Linked DNA regions of Homo sapiens: regions 1, 2 and 4 are each linked to region 3. The links are contacts of gene promoters, found by promoter capture Hi-C in blood cells and fetal thymus (Javierre and others, 2016). All regions are on one chromosome and are shown on one strand. The core of a region is centred on a gene start or on the middle of the fragment in contact, and the rest is flanking DNA. Distances in the headings are between cores, read along the strand shown. Region 1 overlaps MRRF (mitochondrial ribosome recycling factor). Region 2 overlaps MORN5 (MORN repeat containing 5). Region 3 holds the start of CDK5RAP2 (CDK5 regulatory subunit associated protein 2). Region 4 has its middle 7.3 kb from the start of TTLL11.

Evidence for each region. Contacts are between HindIII fragments. The CHiCAGO score rates a contact against its expected background, and 5 or more counts as called.
Region 1: a fragment that was not itself captured here is called in contact with the fragment with the promoter of CDK5RAP2 in region 3 in 1 of 17 cell types (non-activated CD4 T cells); the score reaches 5.4 in non-activated CD4 T cells.
Region 2: a fragment that was not itself captured here is called in contact with the fragment with the promoter of CDK5RAP2 in region 3 in 1 of 17 cell types (activated CD4 T cells); the score reaches 6.4 in activated CD4 T cells.
Region 4: a contact is called between a fragment that was not itself captured here and the fragment with the promoter of CDK5RAP2 in region 3, in 3 of 17 cell types (non-activated CD4 T cells, total CD8 T cells and naive CD8 T cells). The highest score is 8.0, in non-activated CD4 T cells.

Annotation. Positions count from the first base shown.
Region 1 is chr9:122,266,552-122,269,730 of GRCh38, forward strand. All of the region lies in intron 1 of MRRF (mitochondrial ribosome recycling factor), which reads left to right. Among named protein-coding and RNA genes, the nearest start is that of MRRF, 3.3 kb to the left of the region's middle. The HindIII fragment of the contact is 5,207 bases long and covers 1-3,179 here.
Region 2 is chr9:122,163,987-122,167,167 of GRCh38, forward strand. It overlaps MORN5 (MORN repeat containing 5), which reads left to right. Exons shown (of 5, transcript NM_198469.4): 2 at 2,782-2,929. Among named protein-coding and RNA genes, the nearest start is that of MORN5, 5.7 kb to the left of the region's middle. The HindIII fragment of the contact is 1,291 bases long and covers 1,027-2,317 here.
Region 3 is chr9:120,578,556-120,581,822 of GRCh38, forward strand. CDK5RAP2 (CDK5 regulatory subunit associated protein 2) reads right to left here and starts at 1,612. Exons shown (of 38, transcript NM_018249.6): 1 at 1,365-1,612. The coding sequence starts at 1,423. RefSeq lists enhancers at 1,284-1,846, 1,700-1,829. The HindIII fragment of the contact is 6,111 bases long and covers 1-3,267 here.
Region 4 is chr9:122,098,770-122,102,446 of GRCh38, forward strand. No RefSeq gene overlaps it. Among named protein-coding and RNA genes, the nearest start is that of TTLL11, 7.3 kb to the left of the region's middle. The HindIII fragment of the contact is 2,488 bases long and covers 772-3,259 here.

The DNA of each region.
Region 1 (3,179 bases), core at 405-2,904, 1.7 Mb after region 3:
AGAACCAGTTAAGATGGTACATGTGAAAGTATTTTATATGCAAGAGCCTGCGTATATGCACACTCATAGAAGTGCTTATGTTATAAGCTAGTATACAGCTGCATTGAAAAGAGTTGCTGGGACAGTAGATAAGCCAGGATTTTGGGTTGGTCATCTAGCCAAAATTAAAATGAACCTTCTGTGAAGAACAGGGAAATCGTTTGAGACCCTCAACTTTGGAAAAAGAATGTGTGCTTCAAGTAGTTTAAAAAAATATTTCAGTCTGTAATCTCAGCACATTGGGAGGCCCAGGCGGGCGGATCACGAGGTCAGGGGGTCGAGACCATCCTGGCTAACACGGTGAAACCCCGTCTACTAAAAATACAAAAATTAGCTGGGTGTGGTGGCGCACGCCTGTAATCCCAGCTATTTGGGAGGTTGAGTTAGGAGAATGGCTTGAACCCTGGAGGCGGAGGTTGCAGTGAGCCAAGATTGCGCCACTGCACTCCAGCCTGGGCGACAGAGTGAGACTCCGTCTCAAAAAAAAAAAAAAAGAAAAAAAATTCAGGCCGGCGCAGTGGCTCACGCCGGTAATCCCAGCACTTTGGGAGGCCGAGGCGGGCAGATCACCTGAGGTAAGGAGTTTGAGACCAGCCTGGCCAACATGGTGAAACCCCATCTCTACTTAAAATATATAAAAGTTAACTGGGTGTGGTGGTGGGTGCCTGTAGTCCCACCTACTCAGGAGGCTGAGGCAGGAGAATCCCCTGAACCTGGAAGGCATAGGTTGCAGTGAGCTGAGAACGTGCCACTGCTCTCCAGCCTGGGCAACAGAGTGAGACTCTGTCTCAAAAAAAAAAAAAAAAAAATTTAATAGTTGGGATGCTATTATAATAGCTACAATTTATTGTGTACCTACTGGATGCCAGGCATTGTACTGTGTGTATGTGTTTTGTTAAGTGACTAGGTCTCACTATATTGCCAAGGCTGGCCTTGGACTCCTGGCCTGAAGTGATCCTCCTTCCTTAGCATCCCAAGTAACTGGGACTATAGGCACCCATCACTGTTCCCAGCCATGCTGAGTGTTCTATATGCATTGTATAGCAGTTAATAACATAGACTCTAGAGCTAGATTGACTGAATTCAAATCTTGGGCAGATTTTTGCTTCTGTTTTCTTATCTGTAAAGTGGGAATAATCATAGTACTTACTTCAGGGTTATCATGAGGCTGAAATGAGTTCATGTGCATAAACCACTTAGAATAGTTTCTGTCACGTAGTCATTGTTATATAAATGTTAGGTATTGTCATTATTGTTATCTTTTAAAGTCTCATTAATATCACTATGATGATGATGTGGAAGCTGTAGCTCAGAGAGGCTAAATGACCTCCCCAAGGTCACACAGCTAGTAAGTGGGGGAATTGAGATTCCAGTTCCAGACTGCGTCCAAAGCTCAGACACTTCCCCACATTGCTTCTATGTATAGGTTAATTTTGTTGGCTCATACTTGGGATCTCAACAAATTTTTCTTCAACTTTAATTCTTTATCTGTGCTGAACTGAATGTTAATTTGTATACCCTTAAGGTAAAGGACCTAAAGGACTGCTTTTATTGAACTTCCACTTTGAAATTTCTTGACTTCTGTGCAATTAAAATCTACGCCTTAAGCATTTCAGCGATGTGGTTTATTTATAGAGTTGTCTTCCGGTTCACGTGTACTGGGTCTGCTTTTGGGTGCTGCGTTTTCTGTCAAAGGTTGTTTATTTCTAACCCATTTTGATTTCCTGTTGCTTTGTGAGTTGGTATTATGACCTGCAACAGGAATACCAGGAAACCTGTCTTAAATGGAGCAGCCAGATTGAGACCCTGTAGACTAAAATAAAATCTACTCATTATTCTACAGCCATATTTGGTTATAAGTATGAGTTAGGCATTGGTTTTATTAGGGAAAAACCTAGATATAGAAACTTCACTCTGAGCCAAACCTCTGTGAACAGTTCTGCTAAAATAGAGCTTGGCTATTAGCTCCATGTCCTTGGACAGTGACTTAATCTCTCTGAACCTCAGTTTCAGCATCTGTAAAATGGGGATTATTATACGTTCTTTGTGGCATTATTGAGAGAATTAAATGAAATAGTATGGTTAAAGCAAACAGTCCAAACTTGACCTCAATTAATAGTAGCTATTGATACTAGTAAAGAAGAAAAATATTCCCTTTTTTCATCAAATCTGGTTTTATAGACTTCATACACTGATCACTAACTTCTAGTATCCCTTACTGTTAAAAATTCCATCGCGAGAAATGATTTGCCTTTGTGCTACTCATTTGCTTTAAAAATAATATCCATCATTAGGCCGGGTGCGGTGGCTCACGCCTGTAATCCTAGCACTTTGGGAGGCCGAGGTGGGTGGATCACGAGGTCAGGAGATCGAGACCAACCTGGCTAACAAGGTGAAACCCCGTCTCTACTAAAAAATACAAAAAATTAGCCGGGCGTGGTGGCAGGCGCCTGTAGTCCCAGCTACTTGGGAGGCTGAGGCAGTAGAATGGCGTGTACCCGGGAGGCGGAGCTTGCAGTGAGCCGAGATCGTGCCACTGCACTCCAGCCTGGGCGACAGAGTGAGACTCTGTCTCAAAAAAAAAAAAAATAATAATAATAATAGCCATCATTCATTAAGCTGCTATATTCCTGGCACTATGTTAGTTGTTTACATGTATTCATTATTAAATTTTATTTTAAGTTCAAGGTTATTTTTATCATTGATGAGGAAAGTGATGCTCAGAAAAGAAGAGTAAATTGCCTAAAGTTGAAATTTACATCCAGGTCTGACTGATTGTAGGCTATTTTGTACATCATTAATAACATACAAGGTTTCTTTATTGTGTCTGACCCTGGCATAAAAGTTTTAGAGGCCGGGCATGGTGGCTCACACCTGTAATCCTAGCACTTTGGGAGGCCAAGGCAGGTGGATTGCCTGAGCCCAGGAGTTCAAGACCAGCCTGGGCAACATGGTGAAACCCTGTCTCTACTAAAAATACAAAAAAATTCGCTGGGCATGGTGGCATGTGCCTGTAATCCCAGCTACTTGGGAGGCTGAGGCATGAGAATTGCTTGAACCTGGGAGTGGAGGTTGCTGTGAGCCAAGATCGTGCCACTGTACTCCATCCTGGGCAACAGAGTGTGACTCAGTCTCAAAAG
Region 2 (3,181 bases), core at 422-2,921, 1.6 Mb after region 3:
CGATCCTCCCACCTCAGCCTCCCCAGTAGCTGGGACCACAGATATGCGCCACCATGCCCAGCTAATTGATAGGTATTTGAGATCTGGTAATCATATCCTTATTATGGATTGAAGCCTTCACTATAAAGTGGTTTTTTTCTTCTTTTTAACTTACTTTGAATTTAGAAGGCAGGCTTTTCACCTTGAATGAATTTTTTAAAATGGAAGAGAAGGAGGGAGAAAGGAAGGGAAAGAGAGAGAGAGAGTGAAGGAGAAAAAGAAGAAGGGAGGAGAAGGAGAGAAGGAGGGACAGAGAGGAGGGAAGCAGGAAAAGTGAAGATGGGGAGATCAGCTCAGAGCTCACTGCAGTTGTCCCAGTAAGAGGCAGCAGAACCCTGGGCCAAGGCAGAAGCAGTGAAGCTGCAGGAAAGAGAAAAATGTAGGAGAGGTTTGGGGATTTTACTGCCAGGAGTTGGCAGCTGATTGGCTCCAGTCCCGTCCAGAGATGGCTTACAGCCCCAGCCCTGGGCCCAGCTCCTGGCCTTGAACCAGAGGATTCTGATACCATTCATGGAAATAGAGAACTCTAAGGAGGTGCTGCTTAGGGGAGGAGGAGATGAGTTCTGTTTTAGGCGAGTTGGAGATGTCTGTGAGAGGTCTGAACAGTGATGTCCAGTTCAAGGTAAGAAAAGGGGTGGGGTCTAACCTCAGAGAAGGGTGTAGAACTTGAATATGGAGATGGTGCTTAGAAATGATAGATGTGAGCTCAAGCAAAGAGTACAGGAGGGAAGGAGAAGAGGAATTCTCCCTTCCCCCCATGTCTTGCACTAGAATAAAAGTGAAATAGTTTTCAATTTCTTGTTCTATGCCGGGCATTCTGCTATAGTTTCACAACCATCGTCTCACTCAGTTATCTCAACAACTTTGTCATCCACTCTGTTCACTGACTACTCTTTCTGTTTCCTTCATTCTTTACTCAGGAGACGTTTATGAAGCACCTGCTTAATGGTTCTAGGAGCTGAGGATACCAAAGTCTTCCTTTAAAGAAGCTTTTCTTAAATACAGGAGATAAGATACCTAATTACAAAACAAGATAGAAAGTGTTACACATCCCGACAGAGGTATTAGCAAAAGCCTAAAGAAGGTCAGAGTTAGGAGAGGAGCCTTCAGCTTGTTAGGAGGAATGGAGAAGGAATGAATGAAAGCATATTTATTAAGCACTCACTATATATATGTCAGGCCCTTTACTAGGAAAATCGTTATATGTTACCTGGATTAATTGCAGCCATTTCACCCATAAAGAAACTGGTCAGCCCAGTGCAGTGGCTCACACCTGTAATCCCAACATTTTGGGAGGCTGAGGCAGGAGGATCATTTGAGCCCAGAAGTTCTAGATCAGCCTGGGCAACATAGGGAAACCCCGTCTCTACAAAAAAAAAAAAAAAAAAAAAAAAATTAAATAAGCCAGGCGTGGTGGGGCACACCTGTGGTTCCAACTACTTGGGAGGCTGAGGTGGGAGGATCACTTGAGTTCAGGGGATTGAGGCTGCATTGAGCCATGATCACACAGCTGTACTGCAGCCTGGGAGACAGAACAAGATCTGGTCTTGGGAAAAAAACAAAAAACAAAACAAAGAAGCTAGTCAACTGGTCAAGCTGGTGTCCCTGCCTTGTTCTCCTGTATGAGCCTGTCTTCCTCCTGCATAGCACTTATCACACATTGTATAATTACTCAATTTTGTCCCCCACTAGACTGTGAGCCCCCCGAGGACAGGGACCGCATCTGCCTTGATCACTGTTGAATCTGTGTTGTATTCAGCAAGTTGGACCATCAGCATAGTCCCTGACAAAATGTAGGTGCTCTGTAAATACCTGTTTGGAAGGAAAGAAGGAAGGGAAGGAAGGGAGGGAGGCACAAGCAAAGAGGTTTGGGAAAGTATCTGTATTAGTCTGTTCTCATGCTGCTGTAAGGACATAACCAAAGACTGGGTAATCTATAAAGGAAAGAGGCTTAATGGACTCACAGTTCCACATGGCTGGGAAGGCCTCACGATCATGGTGGACGCAAAGGGGGAGCAAGGGCACATCTTACATGGCAGCAGGCAAGAGAGCATGTTCAGGGGAATTGCCCTTTATAAAACCATCAGATCTCATGAGACTTATTCACTATCATGAGAACAGCATGGGAAAAACCCACCCCCATGATTCAGTTACCTCCCACTGAGTCCCTCCCATGACATGTGGGGATTATGGGAGCTACAATTCCCGATGAGATTTGGGTGGGGACACAGCCAAACAATATTAGTATCCAAGATTATATATATATATAATGGTGGTAAGCTTCAAACCCTTACTCCTGTCTCTAAATTTCATATTTTCCCTAATATTCCACTTGTGGCATAATAGGCAAGGATGGGTTGGTCATGGGGGACAGAGAAATCACAGAACTAGCTGCCAGAAAACCTGGGCTCTAGTGTCCACAGTTTTTACTGTGTGTGGTTTTGGGCACATCTCTACGCTCTCTGGGCCTACTAGGGGGGTTTATTTCAGGGAGCAGTGTGAACTCCAAGGTGAGAGTGAGCCTCTAGGTGAAGGGGAGAATGAACAGAGCAAACTCTATTCCCCTCTTTTCGTTTTTGAGCTTTTGAGGGAAACAAAACAAAAATTTTGTTTTCAGCAGAGTACTGCTGGGATGAGAAGGATGAGAATGCTGAGAACGGGGTTCCTGCTCACTCTGTTGCCTGCCAGCTCTGATCCTCCAGCTGTCACACAGGGCTCAGTGATTTCCCTGTGTCTTTACAGGATGGAGGGCAAAGCCAAGTACATCCTCCCTACCGAAACAATATATGTTGGGGAAATGAAGGATGGCATGTTTCACGGCGAGGGAACCCTGTACTTCCCCAGCGGAAGCCAATACGACGCCATTTGGGAAAACGGATTGGCCATAAAGGTGATCAGCTGGGGGGACGGATGCTGTGGAGGAGAGATCCTCACGCAAGAAGAGCCTCACCCTCTGGCACCCCATCCTCCCTGTCTGGTGCCCACCTTGTTCCATTCACTCTTCTCTTTGCTTCTCCCCCACTCCCCCCACTTTTTTTTTTTTTTTTTAGTCTCACTCTGTCACCAGGCTGGAGTGCAGTGGCACAATCTCGGCTCACTGCAACCTCCGCCTCCTGGGTTCAAGCGAGTCTCCTGCCTCAGC
Region 3 (3,267 bases), core at 362-2,861:
TATTTTCACTTTCCTTTTTTTTTTTTTTAAAGATAGAGTCTCACTTTGTCACCCAGGCTACAGTGCAGTGGCATGAACACAGCTCACTGCAGCATCAACCTTCCGGGCTCATGCAATCCTCCTGCCTCAGCCTCCCGAGCGGCTGGGACTACAAGTGCATGCCACCACGCCTGGCTAATCTTTGTAGTTTTTGTAGAGATAGGATTTCACCATGTTGCCCAGGCTGATCTCACACTCCTGAGCTCAAGAAATCGGCCCACCTCGGCCTCCCCAAGGGCTAGGATTACACAGGTGAGCCACCGCACCTGGCTCTTTTCACTCTTAAGTGTCCCAGTTAGCACAATAAATAACATGGTCACCCTTTCAATTAGGATCTGTTGACTAAAAGCAGCAGCTTGTCCATAGTAGAGCTGGATAAACAGTGCAGGTTCTCCGTCAGGGCTCTCCTCCTCTTCCCTCTACTCACTCTCCAACCAGGAGTCTAGGACAACCACAGGGGCCAGCCGTGGAGCAGAGTTGCGCTCTGTTAGGCCTTCCTACCAGACCCCAGCTCCACCAGCAATGGGGACTCCCACAGTCTCTTGGGGCAGGTCCATGGGAGGCCACTCTTGGCCATTATTCCCTGATTCATATCACCTTTGATGACAGTAGTAATAATGACACTAATGGCAACACAAGATCATTTTTTAAGCACTGATTATGTGGCAGGCACTACACCTGCCAAGCAAATGGCTCGACAGGCATCACCTCTTTTAATCCTCACCCCAACTCTGTTGGGTGGATATTACTAGCCCATTTTACAGATGGGAAAGCCGGTGAAATCACTTTACCAAGGTCACACAGCTAGTCAGTTTACAGGGCTGGATTTGAATCCAGTTTTGTCCAACTCTAGCCAAGGTTCTTAATCATTGCACTCCATTGCCTCCTGGGTGGCCACTATGTGACCCAAAAAGCAAAGTCTGGGCATACCGGCTACACTCTCTCCATAATGAAAACAAACTCTCAAACCAGAAGGAACCATCAGGTGCCCTCAAGGTCCCTGTTCTCCACCAATCCCCACTAACGGGATACTCCAAGTGGCCCCACCCTCGTCCTACTCTTTCAGAAAACTCCTTACCTGTTCTTCACACGCTCTACAAAGTACATGGCGCAATGCTACTGGCAATTGTGGTGCAGGTCGCGGCTCCCAGCCCTCCAGAGTGTCAGGTGGTGGGCCCCCCAGAGACCCTCTCCGAAGGAACCCACCCCACACACTGCCCCTGGCCAGACACCCTCAAGAGCAAACCCCAAGGCCGCGTTAGAACGAAATCCCACCAGCTGGAACCCCGGCCCGGTTACCACGACCACCAATGCCCCGGCCGCACCTGCAGCCGCTGAGCGTCCCAGGGACGGTGACGTCCTCTTCCAACACCAAGTCCATCATGGCTACAGAGGTGGCGACAGCGTTGGTGTCTGTGGCGGCGGCGCCACTAGTACCCCCCGCGATAGCGACCCGCCGGGCTCCCCAGGTCCCCGCCCCCTCCACCCCAGCTCTTGTTCAGACTCTGGCGGCGCCGCTGGAATTCAAACCACAGACGCCGCCATCTTTCCCGGCGCTTCTTCCTACGGAAACGAGGCGGGGTCACGGAGGCGCACGCAGTGAAGCCGACCGGCTGGCGCCAGAGGACGGGCAGGGAAGCGGGGATAGGTGCCATCTTAACTAAGGGCAAAGCATCCGTGCTTAAGCCAAGCAAAAATAAGAGACAAAAAAAGGCCGGCTGCCATTTTTTGTGAGGGCACTTAGGGAGAGGCGAGGGCGGGTGCCATCTTTGTTGAGGGCCAAAGCGGGCCCTAGTCCGTTAATTTACGCGGGAGATGGAAATGAATACAGCCACTCAGGAATCCTCAAAGTTCCTAACCTCGTGTTTGCTTTTCTAGAATAATGACCCCAAAACTTTGGGATTTGACCTTAAGTTGAAACTCAGATAACTGAGTGCTGCCTTGCTTTGGAAAAATACTACGTGCGGAATCTCAAGGCAAACAGTAATTTGCAGACTTAGTTTGAAGCAAATAACTCATTCCCATGAGCCAGTGGTCAACAGCACTCCCACTCCAGTCTCTCACCTATTGGTCTTTTATTACCATTAGGACTCAAAGGCACCTGTGGTCAGAAAACTGAGGGCCAGCAAGAGGAAAGGACTCTCCCAAAGTAATTAAGTATTGACAATGTCTTTCAACTGGAGTGGGGGTCTGCAGCTCCTGCCAACTAGATGAGGGCTCTCTGCATAACCCTGGCTGCCTTTCTTTTTTTTTTTTTTTGAAATGGTGCCTCTGTCGCCAGGCTGGAGTGCAGTGGCCCGATCTCAGCTCACTGCAACCTTCACCTTCTGGGTTTAAGCGATTCTTCTGCCTCGGCCTTGCGCCACCACACCCGGGTAATTTTTGTATGTTTAGTAGAGACGGGGTTTCACCATGTTGGCCAGGATGGTCTCAATCTCCTGACCTCGTGATCTGCCCACCCCGGCCTTCCAAACTGCTGGGATTACAGGCGTGAGCCACAGCACCGGCCCCTTGGCTGCCTTTCTTAAAGCACATAGCAATCACCAAACACTTAGATAATCTTGGCAGAGCTTAAGCAATGAAATTAACCTTCCCCTCCTCAACTCAGTGTTGCTCCTTCCTCTGCAGGCCCTTGTGAGAGAGCCCGATGAAAATAACTTGAAATGGTTGGTGAGTGGATAGATAGTGACTTTCCCAGTAATCTTGAACAATTCCCCTTTCACCCTGTTTCCTCATTCTTTTTTTTTTTTTTTTAAATAGAGACAGGGTCTCACTATGTTGCCCAGGCTGGTCTTGAACTCCTGGCCTCAAGCAATCCTCCCACCTTGGCCTCCCAAAGTGCTGGGGTTATAGGCCTGAGCCACTGCACCAGGCCCTCATTCTTCAGTTAAGTAATTAACCAATTATTGATACTTTTCAAAAGAAGCCTTCCCTAGTCATTTAATCTAAATCAAGCCACTTCTTGTATTCCTAGCAATGCAAATTATTCCTTTGTGGCACTTACCATATTTTGCAATTTGTGTGTGTGTGTGTGTGTGTAAAATCATTTTTTAAATGTCTTTCCTTGCACTAGACTGGAAGCTGCATGGGGCAGGGACTATATTCTGAATTGTTCACTGCTATATCCTCAACACCTAGCACTATGTCTGCCACTCAGCAGCTATTTGAAAATGTATGTTAAATGAATGAGTGATTCAATCAATCAGTCTGGAAATAAGGCCAATACCT
Region 4 (3,677 bases), core at 766-3,265, 1.5 Mb after region 3:
AATGCTCAGAGTGTTCTTTCTCTAATAGAAGTCTGACCATGTCAGTCCTCTGTTTAAAACCCTCCTGGGGACCCCTGAAGCTATATGGGAAAGAGCTTGTTTTGTTTTTGTTTTTGAGACAGGGTCTCACCCTGTTGCCTAGGCTGGAGTGCAGTGACACGATCTCCACTTACTGCAACCTCTGCCTTCTGGGTTCAAGCGATTCTCATGCTTCAGTCTCCCGAGTAGCTGGGACTACAGGCACTCCCCACCACACGGGTTAATTTTTGTACTTTTAATAGAGACAGGGCTTCGCCATGTTGGCCAGGTTGGTCTCAAACTCCTGACCTCAAATGATCCACCCATCTCGACCTCCCAAAGTGCTAGGATTACAGGCGTGAGACACTGCGATCGGCCGGGAAGGGGCTTGTTTTGACACTGACCTCACCATGTCTTCACCACTCCCATCCCATCCACATCCCAACACCTTGTCTCTTTCCCCCAGATGGACTTGCTGTAAAATGGACTTTTACAGCTGTCAAAGTCAATTGACTTTTTAAATTTTTAAATTGACGTTAACAGCTGTAAAAGTCCATTTTACAGCAAATCCATTTGTGGGGAAAGAGACAGGAGGAACAAATGGTCCAGGAGAGAAGGGTGTGGGGAACTTTTGCCCCAGCTGGTTGTTTCTGCCCTATTAGTATCAGAGGTCGCCACCAGGTGGCGCCCGAGGTCCAGTTTTTAAGAGGGAGAAGGCTGAAGCGCCTCTGAATCGCGAGCTCTGCCCAGCTAAGCTTGCAAACACACACATTTTTGCACCTCTGGGCTTTTGCCACTATTGCTCTCTCTGCTGGGTGCACCCTCCCTCACAGCTCACCTGACCCAATCCGCTCAGTTTATCCTTCAGGCCCAGCTACAAAATCTCCTTTTCTTAGGGTATGGCTGAGCTCCCGGGGGCATCCAGTTCCCGGAAGGCGGCGTGGCCGATCTTAATGAATGAGCAAAAGGCGTCATGTTCAGTTTCAGGTTAACTTTTTCTCTAATAGGTTGTTTCTTTCTTATTGTCAGTAGTAGCCATTGTTCATGGAGCACATCTGTATGTCGAGCCTCGTTGTGTATTTGGGCATTTAACTGAACATTATTTTCCCCACAGCACAGTTTAGCCTGGAGGCTGAGCACGAGTTGAGTTCTGAAGCTGACAGCCTGGGTTCAAGTCTTATCTCTCCCACTTTCTGGCTGATTATACTTAGATAGGTTACCTGGCTCTTCTGTGATTCTTTCCTCACTGTGAAAAGGTGAAAATGATAGTACCTACCTCCCGGTGTTCCTGTTACTTTGAGGATTAAGTTAGCCACCACATGGAAAAGCATTTAGAACAGAAACGGCCGGCATATACCAAACCCTCAAGTAACCTGTTGATCTCTGTTATGCCCCTATGTCCCTCTTGGCTTTATGATTCTCTAGAAAGCAGTGACATCCCCTCCTCTTGGATCTGCTTTTATGACCTCTCCACCCCATGCTAGGCTGCATTTCCCCATCCCCACAGACCAGGAGTTTCTGGAGGACTGGGCTGTGGTTGATTCAGTCCCCTGGGCCCCCAGCACAGGGCCCAGCACAGAGTAAATGGCACTTATGGAATTGGATTATGAATTATTTAGCCTGGGCATTGTTGCCTTAGGTTTTACAGTTCTGTATCTACAGGTATGTCAAGGGATATAGGGGTGAAAGAGGAAATTACCGAAACAAAACAGTTTTGACATTTTTATTGGAGGGTAATATACACACAGAAAACTTCGATGGATTTTCATAAACTGAAAAGACCGAAGAAACCAACACCCAGATCAAAAATCAGAACATCCCCAGCACCCTGGAAGCCCCACCCTAGGGTAATTGCTTTCCTGACTTCTAATAGCATGGATTAGTTTTGTTTAAAATAAGATACATTTTAACTGATTCCAAGTTTTAAGAACCCACGTCATACATTATGTGCTTAGGTGGAGAGGCATAAGGCCAGAGGCTATTTTCAAACACAACAGCAGACAGTGGGACCCACAGTGACCAACAGCCCACTGGGGTGGGGCCCTGCTTCATGGCTTGCAAAATGCCATATGATATCTGTGCACCGAGTACCCCTTTCCACTTCTGCACACCCATGTGTCCATGCTGTGCGTGGAAGTCAAGGAGGGACGTCCCAGAAGAGGGGACAGGGACAAGAGCAGGGCGCCTGGCAGAACCGATCACTCAGGGAAAGGCCCTGACAGGTGAACTAGGGAACGTAAGGGGGTGCTGGGTGTGGGCAGGAGGGGTGTGGTAAAGACATGCAGAGGCTGGCAAGCTCAGGGTCAGAACAAGCCCCTTCACTGCCGGCACAGTGGCTCACACCTATAATCCCAGCACTTTGGGAGGCCGAGACAGGCAGATCACTTGAGGTCAGGAGTTCGAGACCAGCCTGGCCAACATGGCGAAATCCCATCTCTACTAAAAGTACAAAAATTAGCCAGCGTGGTGGTACATGTCTGTAGTCGCAGCTACTCAGTAGACTGAGGCATAAGACTTGCTTGAACCCAGAAGGCAGAGGTTGCAGTAAGTGGAGATCGTGCCACTGCATTCCAGCCTGGGTGACAGAGATCGTGCCACTGCACTCCAGCCTGGTGACAAAAACAAAACAAGCTCCTTCCCATAGCTTCAGGGGTCCCTAGGAGGGTTTTTAGCAGAGGACTGACTGGTCAGATTTCTATTTCAGAAATAAAGCTCTGCACGTTGAGAAATAAAAGTAAGTTAACATTTATTGTCCTAAACCCTTTACGTGGATTATTGAGTTTATGGCTCACAGCAACTAAGGAGGTAGACAGCAGTGGTCTCCCACTTTATAGATCAGGAAGCAGCACAAGGAAAGTAAGTGGGTGCCCAAAGTCACTCAGCTGGAAGTTCTGGAGCTCATATGCCAACCCGGGCCCAGAGCCTGACCCCTAACTTTATTCTACCTTGGAAGAGGGCTTGGGGGCAGAATCGGGGTGAGGAGACCAGTGAGGAGTCTACTGCAGTTAAGCAGCCCAGAGGTGGTGGGGGGCGGCTGTGGGAAGGGGACCGAGATAGGAGGGAACTGGGGCCCTTCCTGCTGCTCAGGCTCATCAGCATTGCCCTTTCCTCAGGCACCAGGAGCTTGGACTGGGCTCCCCTCTCACCAGCCAAATTTCAGAGACTCCCAGTTTCCTCCTCCTCCCTCCTCACTGTCCCCAAAAGACTCATCCTTCCAATGCTTTCACTTTGCCAAGGAAGAAGCTTAGGAGATGGCAGTAAGTCTGGGGTCCCACAGCCCTGGTCTGTACCCTGGGGCTCAACAACTTCATGAAAGGGTCTCTGGAAGCACTGGGGAGCCTGCCCCCTCTAGTTATTATCCTGAGGATGAGTGGAGGTGATCCTGGCTTCCTTCCCCCTGGGCCTCTTCCTCCAGGGCATCCCTGTCCCTGGGAGATTAGCTTGAAGCTGCCATCAGCCTCAAGGATAGCACCCCCTTGTCTTGGGGGGATGAATGGTCACTAGGAGACCTCCAGACTAGCAACACCTCCTGTGGAGCCCCTGCCCTGGGAAGCCTCCTGGAGAAGGCTGATGGAAGACAGAGGTATCTTTGGGCAGCCACACCTGGCACCTGGTGGACAGACATACCTGGAGGGGCAGGCCGGAGGGAGGTGAAGACA